Linked DNA regions of Homo sapiens: region 1 is linked to region 2. The links are contacts of gene promoters, found by promoter capture Hi-C in human tissues and cell types (Jung and others, 2019). All regions are on one chromosome and are shown on one strand. The core of a region is centred on a gene start or on the middle of the fragment in contact, and the rest is flanking DNA. Distances in the headings are between cores, read along the strand shown. Region 1 overlaps MBNL1 (muscleblind like splicing regulator 1). Region 2 holds the start of P2RY12 (purinergic receptor P2Y12).

Region 1 (6,693 bases), core at 2,967-5,466, 1.0 Mb after region 2:
TATTCCTTTTAAGTAGAAGAAATATAATTAAAAATGGAAAATTAGTTTTCATTTGGGATTTTGATATTTTTTGCTTTATTAAGTCCAACCAACTTCTAATCGTTTTGTTTTCAATTAGCTAGTTTGTAATTGCATTGCACATAGCTAGAAAATAGCTTTCTCATATTTCTAACTTACCATCTCTAGTTTCATTTAGTTTTATTCTTATTTTGATTGGCTATTAATTACCTAGCTTCCATTATATAATTTATATCTTACTATATATATCACATATGCAGTTTATATATATACTATATTTGTACATATGTAATGTAAAGGTATACTGTATTAAACTGTAATGTTTATAAATGAATCATACATTTATTTGGAGGATTAAACACTTAATCTAAATGTATATTTTCCCTTATTATAGCCACAAAAAAATTATAGCAGTTTGAAAGACTAATGAGATAATTCTTAAATTCACAATCGAACAACTTACAACTTCAGAAATTACTCGATGAATTTATTGAATGACTGTTATTGGTCTCATACAGGTTTTTAAGACTACAAGGGGGAAATTTTGCCTTTTTTGGACAGATTACTTTTAATTGAAAAGTACAGAAAAAATATTACAAAAAATGAACTTGGTGTAGACCAATATTTTATTAATTTTCCTTCTTTCCCTTAAAATATATACTGCATATATTGCAATGATGTCTTTGGAATCTTTGTTGGATTAATTCTATTTTAAAAGCCTCCTTGAATGGAGCCTAAGGGATCTATTAGGCTGGGGCAAAAGTTTTGCCATTAATGGCAAAAACCTCAATTACTTTTCCCCAACCTAATACTATGTAGGCTCTATAGAGTGGCCTGCTAGTCAGCAGGACAGCTCTCCAAAAGTAAGATTTCAGTGTAATCAACAAAAGCAAGGCACAGAAACGTAACGTTGTAAAAAATGTGTTACAATGAGACTTTTTCTTGGTGTATGTGGCAAATACACATTGATTAAGAGCCAAGCTTTTATTACATTATTGATGACTGATATGCATTGTCACTGGGTTTTGCTACCTGTATTATTTTTAGAGCGTTTAACAGATACGCTGCTAAATTGAGCAACTGCTGCTTGTTATTAGCTTGAGAACTTAGAAGAGGAAAGTAACTAATATTTATTGGCTGCCTATTACGACAGGTGCCATTTGTGAGGATGGCCTGTAGTCTTACTAATCTTCATACATCACCAATGAGATGTTATTGTTACTATTATATAGAAAAGATGTGACCACTCAGAGAATTTCACTAACTTCCACAAGGTCACACAGCAAATAAGTAACATAGCTACAATTTGAACAAAGCTCTATTTGATAAAATTATACAGTTATCTCAATAGTTGGAGCTACCTGTACCTATCAAAACTGAAGATGGCTGGTCATGGTGGCTCACACCTATAATCCCAGCACTTTGGGAGGCCAAGATGGGTGGATCATGAGGTCAGGAGATCGAGACCATCCTGGCTAACATGGTGAAACCCCATCTGTACTAAAAATACAAAAATTAGCCGGGTGTGTTGGCGGGCACCTGTAGTCCCAGCTACTCGGGAGGCTGAGAAAGGAGAATGGTGTGAACCCAGGAGGCGGAGCTTGCAGTGAGCCCAGATCGCGCCACTGCACTCCAGCCTGAGCGACAGAGCAAGACTCCGTCTCAAAAACAAAACAAAACAAAAAAAACTGAAGACATATTTATATTTATATTTCGCATTAACCTAGCAGCCCAATTTAATGTATCTTGAAGTGAAATCTCTAAATGATTTAGAGTAGTAGCTCCAATATAAAAGTCTGTATATGTGAACTTTAGATACCGATGAATTTCTGTTTTTAGACTTTTAAAATGTAATGTCATTGTATAGATTTTATGATGCCAGAAACATTGAATGTCTATACAAATCTCCTTTCGTACCTGGTGAAACTTACAAACCTGCTTCTGTTTCCTTTTTTTCTTTTATGTGGCTAGCTTTATCATGTATTTAAATGACTGACCTCTTAATGAAAGCATCATTAGGTCAGTACAACTCAGAACCAAGATTTGGTATCATATTTAGTTTTTTCTATTATCTCCATTGTCTCTAGAATAGAGTTAGAGTAGAATTCATCTTGAGGCATTTAGTAAGAAATGAACATTCATTCATTCTGTGAATGTTTATTGAGGTGTGATGCTACTAAGGGCTCAGAGATGGATGAAGCTGGCAACATACCAACATAGTATTTACCTTAACTCTCAAAGGAAGGTATGTTCCTGGTGGTTTTAGGCAATTCTAATGGAGGATGTATATTCTAACTTATTTTTGACCTTTTTCCTTTGTCAAACTATAATCATTCAGCAGCAGAATCAGTATTAAACATGTTTTAAACTTCCTAAGAAGCAAAGTGTATCTAATATCATTTGCAGACATTATTCTCTTATTTTTTCCACACATGTCAAATGAAAATTTATCTGGCTTTGCACAATTGTATTTTGTAGTGTTTTCTGCTATATCAGAATCACCTGGAATGCTTGTTAAAATGTTAATTTCTGGGCCCTCAAACCTGTGGTCACAGCTCTCTGTGGGAGAGTCTTGGTAGTCTGTATACGTTCTCACCAAATATCAGTTGATTCTTAGGAACACAGCTTTTTGAAAATGAAGGGCTCAACACAGTCAAATCAAGCTGAGCATAGAAAGGTACCATAGATAAAAAATGTAGGAGAACAGCATTTTTCCTGAGTAGATGTCATATATTCAGAATGAAAATCAAAAGTCTGAGCGTCTTGTAAAAGTTTTGAGATGCACTGATGCAGAATATACGTATACCAAACACACGTGATTTCTCTCTGTTATTTCAGTCCAGGCTATGTTCATTGGCAGGATGGTCTGGGTGGTGTGTATTCAAGGAAGGTACTGGAATGAAGTGCTTAGGAAGACCACAGTTAGTGTTGGAAGGTCTGGTTCATGGCCCAGGGCTATCTATCTACTATTTACAGAACTATAGAAACCGATGTGAGTGAATTGATGGGAAGTGAATTCTCGTGGTGACCATAACCCCTCTCACCTGCATTTAAAGAAATCCAGTTTTAGTAAGAACTATGATGCGGAGATACTGAGAACAAGAATTTCTGTTGCAGCCAAATTATTCTTTGTATTGAAAAAGCAGGCTTTTTCTAGGAGACTTCAACTAAATATCCCTGAAATTAGACCATATGCTATCCAGGAATTTATTTATTTTTGCCAGTCCTACTCTGTGGTTTATCTTGCGAGTCTAAGGTTGTTTTTGGTTGTTTTGTATCAAGACACTTTTAAGCTAATAACATGCTCATGATCCCAACCTACATCAAGCATGGTGATTTTATATGGAATAAGTTTAATATATATGTTACTTCGTGAGCATACCAATAGCCATAACTAAAAGATGTTTAAAAAATCATCTTCATACCAATGTTTTGTTTTTCTTTTGTTTGATACACAAATTAAATTGTGGTGGCAGTGATACACGTTTTCTAATAATTCAGTACTAGATAGAGAGCCTGAGGCTTACAGAAGTTAGCTCCTTATGCAGTTCATGCATTTGATGAGTAAGAGAGCTAGGCCTCTGTCCCAGCTCATGAGACCTGTAAGGTCTCTGCTATCCACTGTCCCCTGCTGCCTACTGATTTCAAGTATTACATGAAGCTTGTAAAAATAACAAGCAGTATCCTATGATTCTAGCCTAGTGTAGAGACATTCCTAAAAACCTCATACAAAAGGAGCCAAAACCGATCATTTAAATTAGAATTATGACAGATTTTATCATAAGTATAAGCATCAGAGTCAATTTATAGCATAAAGTTCAATTATACTAAATTGGTGTTTTTAGAATGTGAATGATGGCTTCAATTAATCTTTCTTTTATTCTACTGCTTGTAAACAGTTTTAATTAGATTTATTGGTGAAAGAAGTTGTCAAGGTGGTTGATGAGATCTGCTACTATTGATATGATTTGAAAATATGTTGAAATAATATGGGTAGAGTGCCTCACACCATATTACATATTATAGGCTTTAATGAATATTTTATTAAAAAGAATTATCCAAAAGGAAGGTATATTTGTACTTATGATTTTATAGTAACTTCTTTTTTTTGAGATGAGCTCTCACTATGTTGCCCAGGCTGGTCTCAAACTCGTGTGCTCAGGAGATCTCTTGCCTCAGCCTCCCAAAGTGCTAAGATTACTAAACATGTATGATTTATCTCCATTATTTCAGTCCAGGCTATGTTCGTTGGTAGGATGGTCTGGATGGTATATATTCAAGGAAGGTACTAGAATGAAGTGCTTAGGACAGAGTACAGAGGTAGTGCACCGCCATTCCTGGCTTATAGCAACTTAGTTTCTCCATTTTTTAAATTTTTTGGAGGGTAAATATATCCATTTCTTATTGTTTCATAGATTTTGTAAAATGGAGAAGACTAGATTTATCTTTGAAAAGTTAAAGGCCACATTTTTCACCAGTATTTCATTATACTTATTAATCTCTATATACAGTGGGAACACATGGGAGTTTTCTTCTTTTCAATTGTAAATTCCTAATACATGGACTGGTAAAGCCTAGTAGTAATTTTAATTTTATTTGTTATTAGATACTTATAAAGGTGTTTTACTGAAGATACAATGTGCCTTGAGTCCTCTAAGTTCATTTCCTAAGATTTCAGTACAAGTAAAAATAAAATATAAAACTTGGATTCTTAAATCATTAAATTTAACCAGGAAGATATTATGACAGAAGCCTGATATTCTTTGTTTGATATTCTATGTTTTAGTATTACCCTAGCAGTTTGTAGATTTTTAAACTTGAATCTGGAAATGTTAATGCTAATATTATTAAAATAATTGAAACTCTTTAAGCTTTTAAACTTCTTTAAATGTCTCAACCTCTCATATTGATAGTACATTCTGGTGAATTCATTACTTGTTCTAAATGTATGATCAAATGATATGGACAATGCATTGTGTGAAAAACCAATGATACATTCAAGTGGGTGGTTTGCATTATATTTTTTTCATAATTTGCTGATTTTATTCTTTTCTAAGATGATGTTTGCTGCTTTTGTTTCTCTAGGGCCGTTGCTCCAGGGAGAACTGCAAATATCTTCATCCACCCCCACATTTAAAAACGCAGTTGGAGATAAATGGACGCAATAACTTGATTCAGCAGAAGAACATGGCCATGTTGGCCCAGCAAATGCAACTAGCCAATGCCATGATGCCTGGTGCCCCATTACAACCCGTGGTAAGCATGTTTTCAGTCTTCACTCATTAAGTTTTTGATTCAAAGTGCTCAGTTGTAGTACTAAAGTGATTATTGCACCGGATCAAATGAACACAGGCAACAATTTCAGTTGCCTTACCATTTTCTAGCAAAATTAAGTATCAGTCAAATGCTGGAACAATTTATACTTTGTGTAGGCACTCATTTTCTGGCTAAATCATGTGGACATTTACATTATAGCATTTTTTTTCCTCTAAATTTTTCTTCAAAATAAATCCCAAGACTGGCAGATGTTAAAATGCTCTGTGTTACAATGATCATCTAACTCACCGGTATAGTCAATATACATTTTCAGCCACCTTCAGAGGTAATAATGATATTTAAAATTGGTATGTATAGTCTTTAATTTTGAGAATAGTTCTCCCTTTCCTCCCTCCTTGAAAAGAATGTGTATAGTTCTTTTTCTTGAAAAGGTACCTTTCTTGTTCTTCTATAATTTAAGTTGAAATTATTTCATAGCTACAAATGCTAGGAAAATTCTGACAGTAGTAAATCAATATCATAGACTTGGAGGTCTCATTAAAGAAGAATTAATCAGGGTAGGCTGAAACTCTGAGGGCTTAAAGAGCTAAAGTTGAAAAACTGGGTGGTCATAGATATTTAGTATTTGCTGAGCAGTATATGTGGGTGACTCTTGCTTTGAAACACACATTTCTATTTAACTGTTTGGATTTCTGGAGTATGTGTGTAATAAATGACTTTAATAATCTCTATTCATATTTATTCATCAAAATGTGAAAGATTATTATAAGAATTAGTGTTAGGTTGAAAAAGGTGCTTTGACGTTAATTGTGATATAGTAATTCTACATTTAAATTCAAATGCATGTTGAAATTTGCAATTATCAGAATATATCTGTCAGTAATTTATGTCACTAGCTTATATGCAGTATCGTGGGGTCATGGGAATGTGAAGACCCATGTTTTTCTGCTATGCTAACTGTAGCATGTGTGCTGTTTTTTTTCCGAATACATTCTAAAACCTGAACTCAATGTAATTATTATTCTCTTTTAGAACTTTATGCAACAATCATTTCAAAAAAGAGTGGGGGATTGCATTTCAAGGTGGGAGGATCTCCACATTACATGGGCAGTGATACCAGTTATCAGTTCTATACAGTTGAAGTGAGAGAATATAATTAATTATGTGTCTGTTTTAACCTGATCTGGTTTTTTCCCCTATGATTGTAGGCTCAGTTAAAAATGTGATAGCTTAAAGTTATTTTTGTGACATCTACTAATTTCACATGGCTGTATTAGGATAGCATGAAGATTTCCATTTGGTTAAAAAAATTAGCTATAATAATTCTCTAACAGAACATGTAGGACAAAAGTCTCATTTGCACTTGGCTCTCACATACAGTTTCAAAGATCAGACAAG
Region 2 (6,782 bases), core at 2,877-5,376:
GTTACAAAATGTTTTGAGTAGACGCTGAGAAACAATCCATGCCTTATTCTTCTACCTGGCATTGTAGACACCACAAGATTAACAACTTTATATTAATGAGATATATACAATAAATGTGTACTGCCTATAAAAGTAAAATTTTATATATTGCATATAACTTTGAACTATCTGCCCGTCTCCTAACTCTGCCTCATAGGAGAGGACCTGGAGCAATCTATGCTGCAGTAGGCATGGCAGTGAGTCCAGCTCCTCAAGCTTGGATGCCACATTATCAGGCACGCTTTCAGCTTGAAATCTGTAGGTTCAGAAACTCAGTTGTATTGATGCCAACCAAGTACACAAGAAATAAATCAGAAGGCATGTTGGTTTATTTAGAAATAATTTGGACATTGCCTTTTCACCAAACACAGTTCTCCTGGTCACTGTTTGAGGCTCTTGCATCTATGTACTATAAGGAAACTGAGCATTCACAACAGAAATTGGAGAGCATGGAATTAAGCAAAGTGGATAGATTGGTCTTATGAGGTGTTTTATCCTGATACACAGCCTAATTGACCCCTTCTTGTGGCACTGTGTTTCTATGACACCATGTCTTTCCCTCGAATGGTACTAGATGGACATGGACAAGGACACTTAATCTTATTTGATCCTCTTGTCATTTCTCACCTTTTGGGTAGGAGAGATCTAGATATAGCAATCATAGTGAACCTTTTTAAATGGAAGTCACATATTACCTCAGTATACCTAGTATAAAAAATTCGGGCTGATAAGGCCAGACATGATTTGACACTGGCTCTCTCTCCTACCTTGTCTCCTACCAGTCATGGCCCTCTTTCCTCCATGGTTGTTGCACTGGCCATGTTACTGTTCTTGAACTTGCTGAGCAAATTCTCATTTCAGTGCCTGTGCATCTTTTCTTCCCTTTAGGTGGAAAGATTCCCTTCCAGAGATTAGCATGGCCTGCTCCCTTCATTCAGTTCTCTGTTAAGATGTTACCTCCTTCGGGAGGCCTTTGATCACCTCTAAAAATAGGACCACAGCCATTCTGTATGCCATTGCCATGCCTCAAACCACTTGTTACACTTAGTTTTATTTGTCCCACTACTATTATTTGAGCTCCATGAGAGCTTGTTGTTTAGTTAACTACCTTGCCCCCTTAAGCCAGCCTTAGGGAGGGGTTCATTTCTTCTGATGAGATTTGGGAAGTGCTTTCCTCTCACCTTGCAGGGTACTTACAGGTCATCTGTTGGGATGGAGTACTTCTGCATGTGACTCATTTGAACTCTTTTAAGATGACTCTCATTAATGACCATATTTCAGAGCATGATAGGGTTTTTGTTAGTGGTTTTTTGTTTTTGTTTTGAATTGCACTTTTTTTTTGCTCATCTCATCTGATTTTAGGGTGTTGCCCACTTGTGGCTCCCTTTCCTAAGCAAATTTTTCCTTTTCCAGCATTAGTGTGAGTCAGTGAGGAAGTGAAGAAGCAGCCCACTTTATAAACTGATAAAGCCACTTGGCTGATGTCTGCAATGCCATATTTTTCAAAGTACCGTGCGTTCTCTTTATCAAGGAAGACACATACATAAGATAGCAGACCTTCTCTTCTATAAAACATCAAAATAATACATTTGCTAGGGTTCAGCAAGTCCCTAGAAATATAACAGGACTGAGGCAAAATGTAATTCTCTCTCTCCAGTGTTTTTCTTCGTAAGATCAATGAGGTAATGTATTTTAAAAGTTTTTATTAATGCTTAATTTGATGGCCCTCTCAAGCATTTTCCCAGACTTAATCATAGGCTAGCTATATAATTATATAAGATTTTCTTCCTCCACCTAGAACGGCAAATGCACAAATAAATAGCCAGATTTCTTTCTGCATGGAGGAAGAAGAAAGCTAAAATTTTATTTAGCTTTGTTTGTTAATTTGTTAAAGATAAGAAGTGGTTTTTTGCTATCAGTATAAAGCTCAATTTATCTTTAAATGAGAGAAAAATTAAACTTTAATGGGGAGTTTTTTTCCGGATCTTAGATTTTAAGTAACTGGAGAGAAGAACGATACCAAGATGACATAAAAGCGCGGCAGATGATGCACGAAGCATTGCAACTCCGCCTAAATTTGGTAAGTGACATTTCTAGTATTTTCCCTCCATTAAACATATTTACATGTGAAAATACCTCCAGCTTTCCACTTCTCCTAAGTGCAAAGTCTGCATTACAAGGTGAGGCCTTCCACTCTTTGCTCTCTGTAATTACTTCCCTGTTTCTAAAGCCTTCTGTTTCCCTTGCTGCTTTCCTTCCTGTCTGGTCAGACATCTAGACAGTGCTAGGTATTTTAAGCATAGATTTGCCTTCTCTACCTCTACCCCAGTGAATCTCTCCTTCTCTTCAGTTTGTGCTAAGAATAAATCTGAGAAGACTGTTATAAGTGTTAGCTTCTACTATACTTACTTAAAACCATTTAAAAAGTCTTTTAACTCAAAGTTTTGTCCAACTTTCCATCAAATTGATTATAAAGACAAATCCCACAGAGAAGTTTTATAGAAATTTAAAATGTCTCACATATTGTGCATTCCTTGAGTTTTCTTTTCCCATCAGGCAGGCCCAAGTGCAGGCCCCTCTGGAGGATGGCCTGCCTGATACTTTTGCAGTTGTTTCTAACCTTGTCCCAACACGTGAACTGGTAGGTGTGCGGGCCAAGCCTCCTGCCCACCACTGCTGTGATAGTGGATGTTTCCATATGGTATTATGATAGCAGGCTTAGATTCAATAGTAATTGTACAGCAAACACAAAGATGCAGATAATTGGATTACATGACTTTGACATTATTCAGGTTTAATTCAACTATAATTGCATCATAAAACTGGACATCATAAAAGATTTGGAACAAAAGAAAGCTAAGTTTATTGGTGCCCACATTCAGATACTCACGTCCCTTCTTCATTTTAGTTAATGTTTGAATGACTGAACTGTGCTGAAAGAACTAAAAATAGTGATAAACATGTAGGTAAAAGAGAAAAGATAAGGTAATCTATAAACTAGAGCATCCCTTGTTTTTTTAAATAAAAAACAATCAAAATTTGATAACATAAAGCAATGGGGTGTTCTTTCTGTTTTACAGAATGCAAATATCTTACTGTATTTTGTCTGCTAGGTAGGAGGAATGTTTGACACGGTGCAGAGGAGCACCCAGTGGACTACAGACTGGGCCCTGCTACTCCTTCAGATCATTACTTCAGGAACTGTTGACATGCACACTAACAAGTATGTTTTTATCACTTCACATTGATTTTGCTACATGTATGCATGGTATAAGCTTTGATATACTGATGGCGATTTCTGCCACATCTTATTTACTTGGATGCTATTAAAAATTCTGTGCCTTGAATAAAAATACTCAGTTAAATAAGTGTATTTCAGTTTCACTTTAAGATGAAAATAATTATTTTCTTTCTTAGTGAATTATTCACAACAGTTCTTGACATGCTGGGTGTTTTAATCAATGGAACGTTAGCCTCTGACCTATCAAATGCATCCCCTGGGGGATCTGAAGAGAACAAGCGTGCATACATGAATTTAGTAAAGAAACTGAAAGTAAGTTTGAGATCAGCCTGTATTATGAGCTCAAGTTGTTTATGGATTTATTATCTAGTGCATTTTAATTTATTACTCATTAAATGTTATTAATTGTATTCAACTTAATTTAATGTGATTATTTGCTATTTGTTTCACCTAACCTTATTAGTACCCAGAAGTTACATGCACATAACCTTGATTATTTTTTATTGAAAACAATTACATTATAAAACATGTTTAATTTTTTAAAGAACTTTAGAAATCCACTGTTAAATATATAACCAGAATACTAACATTAGATAGATTTAGGATAACTCTATGCTTGGACTGGCACGTGTAATTGAAAAAATAGCCATCTGCATTGAAATTTATAAATCGATTCATTTGACCGACCACTAACAGACTCCTTTAAAAAAAAATTGTAAGAAAACAGTGCAAAAAAGAAACCAAATAAATCTGATGCATTACCAATCAAATAAATCAATGGTTACCTTGTAATCTGACCCTGGACATGAGAAAGTGTTCTGTTCTGCAGCTCCTGTCTTCTGATTGTGATCACTACCCTGGATTTTTGTCATTTCAGCACTATGATGTTTGTTGTGTAACAACAGTGCCTTTGTATGTGTTCTATTTTCTACTTAAATAGAAGAAATGAAACACTCATTGCTCTATTTGGAACTGCCTTGTAGAACATGTTCAGGGTTAAAGAACATGCGCTAAGCTATAAAAAGGGAAATGTTTCATAGGGGAACTTCCTTCTGGTTAACTTTTGCCTTCATTGTAATTTCTGTCCCACTTCTCACTCTCTCTCTCTCTCTTTTTTCTTTAGAAAGAGCTAGGAGACAAGCGATCAGAAAGTATTGACAAAGTTCGACAGTTACTACCTTTGCCGAAACAGACATGTGATGTCATCACTTGTGAACCTATGGGTTCCTTGATTGACACAAAAGGAAACAAAATTGCTGGATTTGACTCTATAGATAAAAAACAGGCAAGAGTGAATGTTTTTTCTTATATATAAATTTATTTACAAAAGATGAAATACTTTTTTTTGTCTTACCATAGGATATATAAAATATATTAATTTTGCTGTTGATGTTTTTAAGGCATATGCTTGTCTTCTAAGTGTACTTAGTCATTGGCATTATCATATAAAGAGGTCATATCTTTGAAGATCTACGTTTTATATGTTTAAAGGACTTAAAATGTTTCCCTGAATTTAAGTAAATTTTTGGAAACCTACCAAGAGAAAACTAAGTAAAAGCTTAGTGTAAAAAAAAAATTGCATAAATAAGTTCTGATTATACTTCAGATTTAGAAGCAGAATATATTTATCAATGAAAAATTTCTTGTAAGCTGAGCATGGTGGCACATGTCTTTAGTTCCAGCTACTTGGGAGGCTGAGGCAGGAGGATTGCTTGAAGCCAGGAGTTTAAGGCTGCAATGTGCTAGGCTCATGCCTGTGAATAGCCACTACACCCTAGCCTGGGCAACAAAGTGAGACCCTGTCTCTGGGGGGGGAAAAAAAAAAAAAAACCTTCCTGTAGTAAGCTATTTCAAATAAAAATTATTTTAATTGTTAGGATATTCTCTATTCCTATCAAGCAGTATTTAATGGACATTTGTTTTATATAAGATATTAAAGATGGTTCTCTAAAATATGAGAAAATTGGTCAGTTACTCTTTTAATGAACAGTAAGCAACCACCGACATTCCACAATCACCAAGATGAAAGACAGAGTTCCTACCCTCAAGGGGGAAGTAGACAGACAATTACAGTGTAATGAGATTTGTGTGACATGGTACAGAGAGAGTATTAGGGGATAGAATAGAGGGTCCCCAGGAAAATTGACACGAGTCATTTTGAAGGATTAAGAGTTAGCTGGGAGGTAGGGAAAATTGTGGTACAAATAAAGGGAGAGTTTATATGAAGACATGAAAGAATCAGATTTACCAGGGAATTTAGAGTAGCCTGAGAATCTAATACCAGTTTGTGTAAAGAAAAAAAGCTAAAGTCATGGTCAAGTTTGAGTTTGCAGTGTCAGCGGACTTCCTGGTAGTAAGACATCTGGAATCCATTTGGATGTGTGGTTTTTACACCAAGGAAAAAGTTCTCATCTCAAGACAAATATTAGGAAACAGTCAATTTACAGGTGGCAATTGAACCTTGGTTTTATTTTGTTTTACTTTGTTTATTTATATTTTTTGAGATGGAATCTCGCTCTGTCGCCCAGGCTGGAGTGCAGTAGTGCGATCTTTGCTCACTGCAACCTCTGTCTCTCGGGTTCAAACGATTCTCCTGTCTCAGCCTCCTGAGTACCTGGGATTACAGACATGCACCACCAGGCCCAGCTAATTTTTTTTTGTTTTTGTCTTTGTTTTTTTTTTTTTTTCAAGACAGAGTCTTGCTCTGTCACCCAGGCTGGAGTGCAGTGGCGTGATCTCGGCTCACTGCAACCTCCACCTCCCGGGTTCAAGCAATTCTCTGCCTCAGCCTCCTGAGTAGCTGAGATTACAGGTGCCTGCCATCATGCCTGGCTAATTTTTGTATTTTTAGTGGAGACGGAGTTTCACCATCTTGGCCAGGCTGGTCTTGAACTCCTGACCTCGTGATCCACCTGCCTCAGCCTCCCAAATTGCTGAGATTACAGGTGTGAGCCACCACACCTAGCCTTTTTTTGTATTCTTAGTAGAGACGGGGTTTCACCATGTTGGCCAGGCTGGTCTCAAAGTCCTTACCTCAGGTGATCCCACCCGCCTCAGCCTCACCAAGTGTTGGGATTACAGACACGAGCCACTGTGCCTGGCCTGAACCTTAGTTTTAGATGAAGCTACTCATAAAAGAATGCATATAGATAACAACAGTAACACTTACATCTTAGGGAATGACTGAGTAGTTATTTGGGGGCCATTTAAGGAAAAATATTTTTAAATTGACATTTTAAGGCAAGTGCCAAGAGATGTCACCAATTAATGTTAAGAATAAAAAGAGGGTAACCGTTTTTTTTTTTCTAGAGTCAGTAAATATAAGCTTGAGTTGAAAGACTTTACTTATTCCTGCTGCTACAATTTAATTCTCTAATAATAATATTATATTCAGAGTATGGCTTATTAAGTACAGGGCCCACATATTGAACCAAGTTCATGCAGATTTGGATTGAAGTTAATACTAACCCAATTACAGGTTGACTATAACTTGACTCTTAAA

What was found. The method cuts DNA at HindIII sites, captures the fragments that hold promoters and counts their contacts. A contact is called where the count stands out against the background at its distance.
Region 1: a contact is called between a fragment that was not itself captured here and the fragment with the promoter of P2RY12 in region 2, in 1 of the 25 tissues and cell types used here (dorsolateral prefrontal cortex).

What each region holds. Positions count from the first base shown.
Region 1 is chr3:152,409,838-152,416,530 of GRCh38, forward strand. MBNL1 (muscleblind like splicing regulator 1) reads left to right here. Exons shown (of 10, transcript NM_021038.5): 3 at 5,104-5,274. Among named protein-coding and RNA genes, the nearest start is that of MBNL1-AS1, 140 kb to the left of the region's middle. The HindIII fragment of the contact is 3,755 bases long and covers 2,340-6,094 here.
Region 2 is chr3:151,380,627-151,387,408 of GRCh38, forward strand. P2RY12 (purinergic receptor P2Y12) reads right to left here and starts at 4,127. Exons shown (of 3, transcript NM_022788.5): 1 at 4,066-4,127. MED12L (mediator complex subunit 12L) reads left to right here. Exons shown (of 45, transcript NM_001393769.1): 33 at 2,030-2,119; 34 at 3,153-3,262; 35 at 3,457-3,592; 36 at 4,404-4,565. The HindIII fragment of the contact is 3,937 bases long and covers 1,785-5,721 here.